Linked DNA regions of Homo sapiens: region 2 is linked to region 1. The links are contacts of gene promoters, found by promoter capture Hi-C in blood cells and fetal thymus (Javierre and others, 2016). All regions are on one chromosome and are shown on one strand. The core of a region is centred on a gene start or on the middle of the fragment in contact, and the rest is flanking DNA. Distances in the headings are between cores, read along the strand shown. Region 1 holds the start of IRF2BPL (interferon regulatory factor 2 binding protein like). Region 2 overlaps SPTLC2 (serine palmitoyltransferase long chain base subunit 2).

Region 1 (4,979 bases), core at 1-2,500:
TGCTGCTGCTGCTGTTGCTGTTGCTGTTGCGCGGCGGCGGCGGCGGCCGCCGCTGCTGCCGCCGCCGCCGCCGCTTCCTTAGCCGACAGGGCCACTGTCTTGACCCCGACGGGCGGCGGCGGCCCGGGGGAGCGGCCGTCCTGGAAGCAGCCGTGCGCCCGCTTCAGCTGGCGCGCTGTCTCGATCACGAATTCGATGCGATCAGCGCCCTCGTAGTTGACGCAACCGCGGCATACGGGTTCCGAGAAGTCCCAGATCATGGCCCAGGGCATGCGGGGCAGGTCGCACAGGTAGCAAGATTGTCTCCGGGACGAGGACACCTGCGCCGCCGACATGATGCCTGCCCTGGGGAAGGTAGGCCCCCGCCCGGGCTGTCTCCGCGGCGCCTTCTCCTCCGGGAGGACTGGCCGGCTGGGGAGGGAGTCCGACTGCGGGGGAGGGAGGAGGGGGGGCGAGAAAGTTCTGCCCCAGGGGCTGGAGGGAACGCGAGTCTCCACCGCCGGCGCAGCGCCTCGCCGTGGGGGCTCCACCGCCCGGGCAGCGGACGGGTTCAGCCCTCTCTTCGCCCCCACCTCCTACTGCGGTTGACTCGTCGCGAGGGGAGCTCAGGCGCCTTCTTCCTGGTGCTGCAGACTTGGGCTGGAAGCTCCCGGCCCGAGGGGAGGGGGCGAGGGTGCCCGGTGGTGGCCGCCGTTGCCTCTTGGCCCCCTCCCCGGAGTGGCTGGTGCGTGGAAGCTCGAAAGGGGCTGTCTCTTCCTCTCCCCGGGGACCCCCCTACGAGCTGCGTCCTCTCCCCGACGGGCCCCCTGGGGCGAGGGCCAGAGGGTTCAGTGCCACCCGGTGCCCGGGTCCAATCTTGCTGAAGCCGCTGCTTCCCCGGAGGACCGGGGGAGGGGGTGGCAGCCGAGAAAGGACCTTCTCCCCTCCGCAGCGTCGGCCGTTCTGCTGGCGGCGACTGGGTTTGCACCCCGGAGGGAGCCGCCGCGGCCACTGCTTCCAGGACGCACGAGAGCAGAGGAGAGGAGTGCACGCACGCAGGCTCCCGCCGCCCCCAGGCCTGGCCGGCGCCCGGGCCGCCGCGGCTGGCGGCGCTCACGTTGGCTGCAGGGCGCTCGCGCGGCGCCTCGGCCCGGGTCGCATCCCTTCCCGCTCGTGCTCACGCTCGCCCGGAATGTGGGGTTGTGATTGTTACTCTACGTTCCGGAGGCGCGTCTCGGCGCTCCTGCTCCGGCTGCGGCTCGCGCTGTCCCCGGCTTGGCCGCGCGGGATGCCGCCCGGGCGGAGCGCTGACGTCACCGCCATGCTCTGCACCAGTTCTTCCCCCTCCCCTTTACACTTCCTCTGTGGAGCCCACTTGTTGCTCAGGCAAGGCGCATGCGCGGCAGGACGCCCAGATTCCTCCCAGCCGGCCCCTCCTCCGCGCCTCCGCCCTCCCCTCCCCCCTCGCCGTGTGTGTACAACAGCTGAGGCCCGGCGAGCTAATGCTGGAAGTCCAGAGCTGGGGGTGGAAATTAAACAGACGATGACCTTTCCTTTCCCTGCCGGGCATTCCCAAGTAAAAACGCATTTAAGAACCACTAGCGTCGTTTCCGATCCCTGCTCCCCACCCCACCCCCAAGCCTCGGCAGTGAATTTAAATGTCCTGTTTCAGGATTTTTCGCCGTGAATTTCGTATAAGGTATTAACCATTTCATCTGCGGTTGAACCTTATCCCCCCCGGCATGGATGTTAAATTCATCGCCACCACTGATGCCGAAGCACCTGCAAAATTAGCTGTTTTCCAATCTTCCAGAAATTGTCTTTTCTATTTGTTTTTGTGCCCTGATCTAGGAACCCGGGCTTCAACGATAGAGCTAAATGAATTCAGAGTGCGCTACCCTTCCCCCCAGCCGCACTTTAAAAATTTTGGCTGAACGTCTGAAGAAGATACGAGCACCCCGAGGCCTTTAAGGAAAACAGGCAACTGGCTGCGCACAGCTGCAGTTCAGGGCAGGGAGGGGGAGGGGCCGGAGAGGCCAAACAGGTGAGTGTTTTTTCTAGAGTTTGATTTTTAAAAGGTGGAGGCAGCATTTAATAATACTGATACATTTTTGTAAAGCACAGCCGCAGTTTTCAAAGTTCTTTCTCAGGCGCTGTGATCTCACTCCATGTTGCCCCAGAAGGCGGAACAAGGCCGTGATTTTTTTTTTTTTTTTTTTTTAAGACGGAGTCTTGCTCTGTCGCCCAGGCTGGAGTGCAAAATGGCGCGATCTCGGCTCACTGCAACCTCTGCCTCGCAGGTTCAAGCGATTCTTCCGCCTCAGCCTCCCAAGTAGCTGTGATTACCGGCACCCGCCATCAGGCCCAGCTAATTTTTTGTATTTTTGTAGAGACATGGTTTCACCATGTTAGCCAGCTGGTCTTGAACTCCTGACCTCAGGTGATCCTCCCGCCTCGGCCTTCCAAAGTGCTGGGATTACAAGCATGAACCACCACGCCCGGCCAAGGCCGTGATTTCTTCTGCCTTACAAGATCACTGCTCATCAGTATTGCTTATGGCACGATGGATATGTTGGTCATAGCTCTAGTTGGGGCATTTCTATTGATTATTCTAATTATTGGGTTTGCTTTTTTTTTTTTTTTTATTTCATGAAAACTGAGATAATCCCAGGGAAGGCTGGAGAAGGGAAAGCAATATAATGGGATTTCGGATTCTGAAGTGTGGCCCACCAGATTGAAATTTCCTCTCCATCACTAACTGGCTCTCCACCCTTAAGCTAGTTACCCACAAAATCTCTCTTTTCCATGGAAAAGAGAATGGAATGATAGCTCCCAGGTTGTTAGGGTTGTTTGAGATTTCAACTTCGGTTTTTTGTTTTTTTGAGATAGGATCTTGTTCTGTTGCCCAGGCTGGAGTGCAGTGGCACACTCGCGGCTGGCAGCAGCCTGACCTCCCAGGCTCAAGTAATCCTCCCACCTCAGCCTCCCTAGTAGCTGGGACTACAGGCATGTGCCATTACACCTGGCCAATTTTTTTGTATTTTTGGAAAGGGATGGGGTTTTGCCGTGTTGCCCAGGCTGGTCTCAAACTCCTGGGCCCAAGTGATGCACCCACCTTGGCCTCCCAAAGTGTTGGGATTACAGGCATGAGCCACCTCACCCGGCCTCAATTTGTTTCTTGTCATAAGAAGAGATAACGCTTACTTAGACTTGCCGTGGGACCTTAGTAAACTAGGTGGCTTTACTTGCATCACCCTTAATATTATCTACATTATTAAGGGGATATTATCTATAGTATTTTGTTGTTGTTTTGAGACAGAGTCCACTCTGTCACCCAGGCTGGAGTACAGTGACGCAATCTCAGCTCACTGCAACCTCCACCTCCCAGGTTCAAGCAATTCTCCTGCCTCAGTCTCCCAAGTACCTGGGGATACAGGCGCCCGCCACCACACCCAGCTCATTTTTGTATTTTTAGTAGAGACGGACTTTCACCATGTTGGCCAGGCTGGTCTCGAACTCCTGACCTCAGGTGATCCTCCCGCCTCAGCCTCCCAAAGTGCTGGGATTACAGGCATGACCCACCGTGACCGGCCTATTACAGTATTAAACCCTTAATATTATCTACAGGGTAGATTCTTTTACCTCCATTTTACAAACCAGGAAAGTAAAGAGGCTATATAACTTGCCTACAGCCATTAGTGATGGGGCTGGGATTTGAATCCAGTAAATCTGATTTGAGGTGTCTTTGACAAGCTCAGGCTTGCAGAGGTGGTTTGGGGTGCTCAAAATTCCCATCAGCCCCAGTTGATTTGGTGTTACATACAATCTTACGTAAGTACTATGCCAATACACCTTCATAACCAACCCCCAGCCTCCCCTTCCAAGCGCATTTGTACCACTGAGTTCTATATACAGAAGTTGTAGATCTGTCACTACCAGACTGTAACTTAAATACACCATACAGAATGGAGAGCAGTGTTGGACTCACAGTTAGTGTTAGTTATTATTAGTATTGATACTAGTGTTGGTACTATTGCTGGTTGACATGTGACAGTACTTAGTAAACTGCATAAATTGTGAGGATCACTATTATCACTCTTATTACTAGTAATTGCAATAAAGTTCAGTGGAAGCAACAAGAGATACTTACTTTTATTTTGACACTTGACTTCCAGAGCCTGTTCCCCTATCCAACCCTCCCCAGAGCCCCAATCTCCCACTCATTCTGGGGCCCCTGAGTGCAAAGGAAAGGCGAGTTTTTAAGGACAGAAGAGGAGGAGGAGCCCTAGGGAGCCCCTCTTTCATCTCAAAGCAGCCAGATTTCTGTTTTTGCAAAACAGTGAGCTCACTGTGCACTCTAGAGCAATAATAAACTTTCTCTGGCCTGCTGGCACTTTGCAGTGATTCCTCTGCAAAGAGTTGCTTGGGGAGCATTGCCTCACTCTCCCAGACTTCAGCCCTCCCCACACTACCGCTACCCTGGAGTGAGTCAAAACATAGGGGTGGGAAATGGTTTGACATCCCCGCCAGCCTGGGGCTCCTTAGCTTTGGCTCGGTTGGGTGACCCATTTCTTTACATTAATATTTATTCAGCCCTTCCCTTTATTAAACCAAAAATATTAGGGAAATAGCAACTTAGCCACAACCCTCCAGCCAGGCTGCTAGAGAAAGCAAGTTGGATTCTATGTCATGGTGTTATGTTTGGTATGCACACACATATGTCTCCATCTCCCTGTCTGTCTCTGTCTTCACTGTTACTAAAGGAGATATATATACACACATACATGCTGGGGTGCCTTCAGACACACTGAGTTAGAAATCAACGTGTATTTAAACAGACTTCCATTACAGACTCATAATCCTTTCATTTATAAAACACAGCTGTCTCCAAACCGCCCCCCCCCCCCCAACCAAAAAAAAGAATCAACATCATTTGTGGTATCTCTTGTTGCCTGAGATGGCCGTTTGGGGATGTGTGAGAGACGGTGAGAGGCTAGAAC
Region 2 (6,412 bases), core at 1,374-3,873, 560 kb after region 1:
ACATGGTGAAACCCTGTCTCTACTAAAAATACAAAAATTAGCCAGGTGTTATGGCAGATGCCTGTAATCCCAGCTACTTGGGAGACTGAGGCAGAAGAATCGCTTAAGCCCGGGAGGCAGAGGTTGCAGTAAGCCAAGATTGCGCCATTGCACTCCATCCTGGGCGACAGAGCGAGAGTCCGTCTCCACACACACACACACACACACACACACAAATACAAAAAATTAGCTGGGCGTGGTGGTGCACGCCTGCAGTCCCAGCTACTCAGGAGGCTGAGGCATGAGAATCACTTGAACCCAGAAGGCAGAGACTGCAGTGAGCTGAGATCATGCGATTGCACTCCAGCCTGGATGATAGAGCAAGACCCTGTCTCAAAAAAAAAAAAAAAAAAGACAAGGTTTCACTCTGTCACCCAGGCTAGAGTGCAGTGGCTCAATCACAGCTCACAGCAGCCTTGAACTCCTAGGTACAAGTGATCCTCCCACCTCAGTCTCCCAAGTAGCTAAGACTATGGGTGTAGGCCACCACACCCAGCTAATTTTTTAATTTTCTTGTTGAGACAGGGTCTTGTTACATTGCTCAGGTTGGTCTCAAACTCCTGCGCTCAAGCTATCTTCCCACCTCAGCCTCCCAAAGTGCTTGAAATTACAGGTGTGAGCTAACACGCCTGGCCTCTGGCCTTGTATCTTAAACATTTACCGAGCGTCTAATATGTGCCAAGCACTCTATAGTACAGAGTAGTAAACAAAAAGGTAATAATCCTTGCCCTCTTGGAATTTGTATTCTGGTGGAAGAGATAAACATATAAAATACAAAGTTTGCTAGTCCAGGCTCAGTGGCTCACGCCTGTAATCCCAGCACTTTGGGAGGCCGAGGTGGGCAGATAGATAAACATGAGCCCAGGAGTTCAAGACCAGCCTGGCCAACATGGCAAAGCCCTGTCTCTACTAAAAACACAAAAATTAGGTGTGGTTGCACATGCCTGTAGTCCCAGCCACTCTGGAGGCTGAGGCAGGAGAATTGCTTGAACCTGGGAGACAGAAGTTGCAGTAAGCCGAGATCGCGCCATTGCACTCCAGCCTGGGCAACAGAGCAAGACACTGTCTCAAGAAAATAAAAATAAATAAAAATAAAAATAAATAAAGTATGTTAGACAGTGACAAATACCAACAGAAACAAAAGCAAAAAGGAAAGGGGGAGACATGCTGCAAATTAGCTGGGGTGCCCTGGGTAGAACAGAGGATAAAATGGAAGTGAGGGAACTAGCCATGGGACTATTTGAAGGAAAAGCTTTCCTGGCATGAAAAACAGGGAAAACAGGTAACAGGGAAACTCTTGCAAACCTAACACTGGCACTAGTCCAAACGGATACAGAGGTAAACCTACTGCCACTAGTCCAAACAGATACAGTGGTAAACCTACTACACAAAGCTTCTTTGAAAGGTTTATTTTGAGTATAGTTTTTTACCAGTGAGAAATCCCTATAGTAAGTAGAGATGACTGCTCCATATGATGAAATATTATTCAGCAATAGGAAGCAATGAAGTACCGATACATGCTACAACATGAACTTCAAATACATTACGCCAAGTGAAAGGAGCCAGACACAGAAGAACATACACTGTATGATCCCATTTACATGAAACATCCATTTATATGAAAAGTCCCGAATAGTAAATCTACAGAGACAGAAAGTAGATTAGTGGCTGCCGAGGGTGGGGAGGGTGGATGAGGAAGGAGTGACTGCTAATGGTTCATGGTTTCTTTTTCAGAAGAGAAAAACATTACAAAATTAAATTGTGGTGCTGGCTGCACAACTCTGTAGATATACTAAAAACCATTGTATCGTACACTTTAAATAGGTAACCTTTATGATATGTCAATTATTTAAAAAGACTACTGCTGTCCTGTGCCCAGCAACTAACACAAAACAATGAAATACAGTGCTCTTTATTTTTTATTCTTCTTATTTTTTTTAGACAATCTCGCTCCATTGTCCAGGGTGGAGTGCAGTGGTGCAATCTTAGCTCACTGCAACTTCCACCTCCCAGGTTCAGATGATTCTGGGGGAGCTAAGTAGTGCTCTTCTGTATGTATGTATGTATGTATGTATGTATGTATGTATGTATTTATTTTTAGACGGAGTTTCTCTCTTGTTGCCCAGGCTGGAGTGCAATGGTGTGATCTTGGCTCACTGCAACCTCCACCTCTCTGGTTCAAGTGATTCTCGTGCCTCAGCCTCCCAAGTAGCAGGGATTACAGGCATGTGCCACCACGCCCCAGATAATTCTTGTATTTTTAGTAGAGACCGGGTTTCACCATGTTGGTCAGGCTGGTCTCAACTCCTGACTTCAGGTGATCCGCCCGCCTTGGCCTCCCAAAGTGCTAGGATTATAGACGTGAGCCGCCGTGCCCAGCCAGTTGTGTTCTTTTTAAATGTAGAATCATACACAGAATTAAAGAAGACAAACCAAACAATCAATCCCCTAGCTTAATGCACCAAAATGACAGGTACCAGAATATTCTTAGTACGCTACTTTTTTTTTTTTATTTTGAGACAGTCTCTATTGCCCAGGCTGGAGTGCTGTGACAAGATCTCAGCTTACTGCAACTTCCGCCTCCCAGGTTCAAGCCATTCTCCTGCCTCAGCCTCCCAAGTAGCTGGGATTACAGGTGCCCACCACCACGCCTGGCTAATTTTTGTATTTTTAGTAGAGATGGGGTTTCATCACGTTGGCCAGGCTGGTCTTGAACTCCTGACCTCAGGTGATCCACCCACCTCGGCCTCCCAAAGTGCTGGGATTATAGGTGTGAGCCATCGCACCCGGCTGTACGCTACTTTTTGAAGGAGGCCAAGAATAAAATCCCTCTGGGAATTCCTAGTAATGTATTTGAATTTCTTTCTTTCTTTTGTATCTTGAAAATAAGCCTATTGGGATATAAACATATAATGTCCCTTCGCCGTATCCTATCCCTCCCATTTTTAATCTACTTATTTTTTGTAACTTTTATTTTAGGTTCAGGGGTACGTGTGCAGGTTGTGCAGGTAAACTCGCATCACAATGGCTTGTTGTACAGATTATTTTGTCACCCAGGTACTAAGCCTAGCACCCAATGGGTTATTTTTTCTAATCCTCTCCCTCTTCCTACCCACCACAAGTGTCATTTTCCTCTTTGTATCCATATGTTCTCATCATTTAGCTCCCACTTATAAGTGAGAACAGGCTAGGCACGGTGGCTCACTCCTGTAATCCCAGCACTTTGGGAGGCCAAGGCAGGCTGAGGTCAGGAGTTTGAGACCAGGCTGGCCAACATGGTGAAACCTTGTATCTACTAAAAATACAAAAAATTAGCTGGGCGTGGTGGTGCATGACTGTAATTCCAGCTACTTGGGAGGCTGAGGCAAGAGAATCACTTGAACCGTGGAGGCGGAGATTGCAGTGAGCCGAGATCACGCCACTGTACTCCAGCCTGGGCGACAGAGTGAGACTCCATCTCAAAAAAAAAAAAAATTAAAAAAATTAAAAAATAAGTGAGAATGTGGTATTTGGTCCTCCCGTTTTTAAATATCTGATCATGAACAAGCTGTGGAGGCAAAATGTTAGTTTAAAATTTTGTCAGTGTGTGGTAACTACCTACCATAATTTACTCCTTACGTTCCTAGCTATTTCCTATCTAAATATTAGAATATTTTTTTCTGAATTAAATTTTTTCATTTTGTAGAGATGAGGTTTCATTATGTTGTGTCAGCTGGTCTCAAACTCCTGGCCTTGAGTGATCCTCCTGCCTCAGCCTAGAACATCTTTATTAATTCAAGCTTTTGCTGTATCTGTCACGTACGTGTTTCTGAACTACTAGCTTCACCTCACATCACAAAGAAATAATCCATAGATTGAGAAAAACAACATTCTCATCCAAAACACCACGAATAACAGAGGATTAAGGGGTAAAGAATTCCAAGAATTTTATGCAATGTATATAAAATAGAACAAACTCATGGTAACTCATCTTTATTGGTATGATCATGTGATTTAGTTGTATTCAAAGCAACATACGGTATTTCCTTACATCAAAGAATTAACACAGTTAAACTGGGCTCTCTTTTATAATGAAATGAGGAAGAAAACCAGGATGTGGTTATGAATACCACTCTCTCAGTGAAATGAGGAAGTAGCAACATTATGTTTGCATTTTATGATCCCAAGCAACCACTTTCCCTCACCTCCTTCCAGTTTAACACTTAATTTGCCTCCCTCTTTCCCCATCTCTAATCCAACATTAGAAAACAAACATGATCTATCACAGGAAAGGAATGACTTTTCCTTTCCCTCTAAAAGCTGAATTTTTGTAAGAAAATGGCAGAAGTTGGCTGTTTTAAATGCTAATGTTATCTACTGGGAATATTCTATTGAAATGAATTTGAATAATTTAATAAAATCCTCTCCATAAACTGCAGAGGCAAATGCTCTCCTCAGCCTCCCATTTCCTTGTATTACTTCCTCCAAGAATTGTTTCCTGATTAACCCTATGCTACTCAGATACTTTTTTTGTTCTATATCTTCATATAATCTAAGTATTATTTACTTGTATAATGGTTTTGCAAAGGCCCATAACTTTCAAATGTTTGTTTCCTCAACAAAATTAGAAACTACTTAAGAATAAAATCTGTGTGTTCTAATTCTTTCACACAAAGGATACACAGGCAGCTCCCAACACTTAAACCACCAATTTACTTTCTGTAAACATGAAACAAGTTCCAAAGATAATGTACTCACAAAGTAATTCAGATACATCTTGTTGGTTTCATTCATTCATCACACTTTGAGCACCAGCTGCACAAGCTGTATGAAAAATCCCCTGATCAAAAACTGCCCTTGGGGTCATGGTGGCTCACTCCTATAATCCCAACACTTTGGGAGGCCAAGGCAGGAGGATCGCTTGAGCACAGGAGTTTGAGACCAGCCTGGGCAACATGGCGAGACGCTGTCTCTATTTAAAAACAAAAACAAAAACAATACTCCTCATTGCCTACCAAACTTCTTACTTTGATTTTCAAAACACAATTTCTCTTCTGTCTACATTCCAGATTCTCCCAAACATTCTTCATGCCTTTGCCTATACTATCCCCTCATCCAGGAATGTGCTGTCTGCACCACAATCAGCACTTCCCTCACCACCAGCAATACACGTCAATTATCAAGTTTCGACTATGCATCTACACTAGGAGAGGTCCCTGCAGATAAAGAGTTTTTAGTTTGAATATTTAAATAAAACTTCAGCTACCATCGGTCATAACTGCCATCAACTCAGTCTAGTAGGAGGATACAGGCCTGTGAACAAGTAACTACAATACTGTACAACCTAGGAAGGGTATGGTAAGCTGTCACTGAGGGCTATACAAAATCAACGTACTGTAGATGCACTCTGAGTGGACATGCTCAGGGGGAGAAGGGGGATCAAAACGTATTAAAAATGTGGGCCAGGCACAGTGGCTCGCATCTGTAATCCCAGCACTTTGGGAGGCCGAGGCAGGTGGATCGTTTGAGGTCAAGGAGTTTGAGAACAGCCTGGCCAACATGGTGAAACCTCGTTTCTACTAAAAATACAAAATTATCTCGGGAGTGGTAGCACATGCCTGTACTCCCTGCTACTTGGGAAGCTGAGGCATGAGAATTGCTTGGACCCGGGAGGCGGAGGTTGCAGTGAGCCGAGATCACACCACTGTACTCCAGCCTGGGTGACTGAGCGAGACTCTTGTCTAAAAAATAATGATAATAAAATAAAAAATGTTAAAAATGTGTTTGGGTTTTAAAAGATAAAAATTACTTAGGGTTACTGGACCAACTTCTGAATGCAGGGCTTTGCATTCAAAAAACTTATTTACCTTCTTTGTGAAATTAACTTGCAGGGCAATGAGTAGGATGGCCAACTTGTGCTGGGGCTCGGATGGAGTACAAGATGGTTGAGATGAGAGAGAAAGGATGCCTAATCTTGAGTTCTCCCAGGAGCCACTTTTGAATCCATGTATCTACTGACTGGTTTTGTCTTCCTAGTAACTGACAATGTTTTCGTGATATACTCTTCCCATTTGCACATGACCACTATCCATTACCTGAATAATTGTTTCTTCTACAATCAATGTTCACTGGCTCGTCTCAGCGTTGACTTTGCTCACCCCACACCTGCCTCTTTTCCTCGGACGCACAGGAACCACAAAAAAACTCTAATGTCTTAAGTCCTTCTCTAATCTGGTACATTTGCCTGGGCTAAAAGACAACCTTTTGCCATGTGGGACATGCCAAGAACACACAGGTTTGTTTTATTTTTAGTAAAATTAGGCATCTTTAACCCTCATTTTATTTATTTATGGAGACTAGGTAACACATATGTAATGTATACAACTCCAGAAGT

The links. The method cuts DNA at HindIII sites, captures the fragments that hold promoters and counts their contacts. A CHiCAGO score of 5 or more calls a contact.
Region 2: a fragment that was not itself captured here is called in contact with the fragment with the promoter of IRF2BPL in region 1 in 4 of 17 cell types (naive B cells, total B cells, naive CD8 T cells and 1 more); the score reaches 8.7 in naive B cells.

Annotation. Positions count from the first base shown.
Region 1 is chr14:77,027,458-77,032,436 of GRCh38, forward strand. It overlaps IRF2BPL (interferon regulatory factor 2 binding protein like), which reads right to left and starts at 1,251. Exons shown (of 1, transcript NM_024496.4): 1 at 1-1,251. The coding sequence starts at 335. It overlaps LOC107984638 (a long non-coding RNA gene), which reads left to right and starts at 11. Exons shown (of 4, transcript NR_190002.1): 1 at 11-354; 2 at 1,831-2,023; 3 at 2,204-2,279; 4 at 2,370-4,115. LOC105370579 (a long non-coding RNA gene) reads right to left here. Exons shown (of 2, transcript NR_169510.1): 2 at 4,102-4,979. RefSeq lists silencers at 381-880, 1,001-1,210, 1,411-1,540 and an enhancer at 2,304-2,824. The HindIII fragment of the contact is 11,624 bases long and covers 1-4,979 here.
Region 2 is chr14:77,589,604-77,596,015 of GRCh38, forward strand. The region is part of intron 2 of SPTLC2 (serine palmitoyltransferase long chain base subunit 2); the gene reads right to left. Among named protein-coding and RNA genes, the nearest start is that of SPTLC2, 24 kb to the right of the region's middle. The HindIII fragment of the contact is 2,386 bases long and covers 1,431-3,816 here.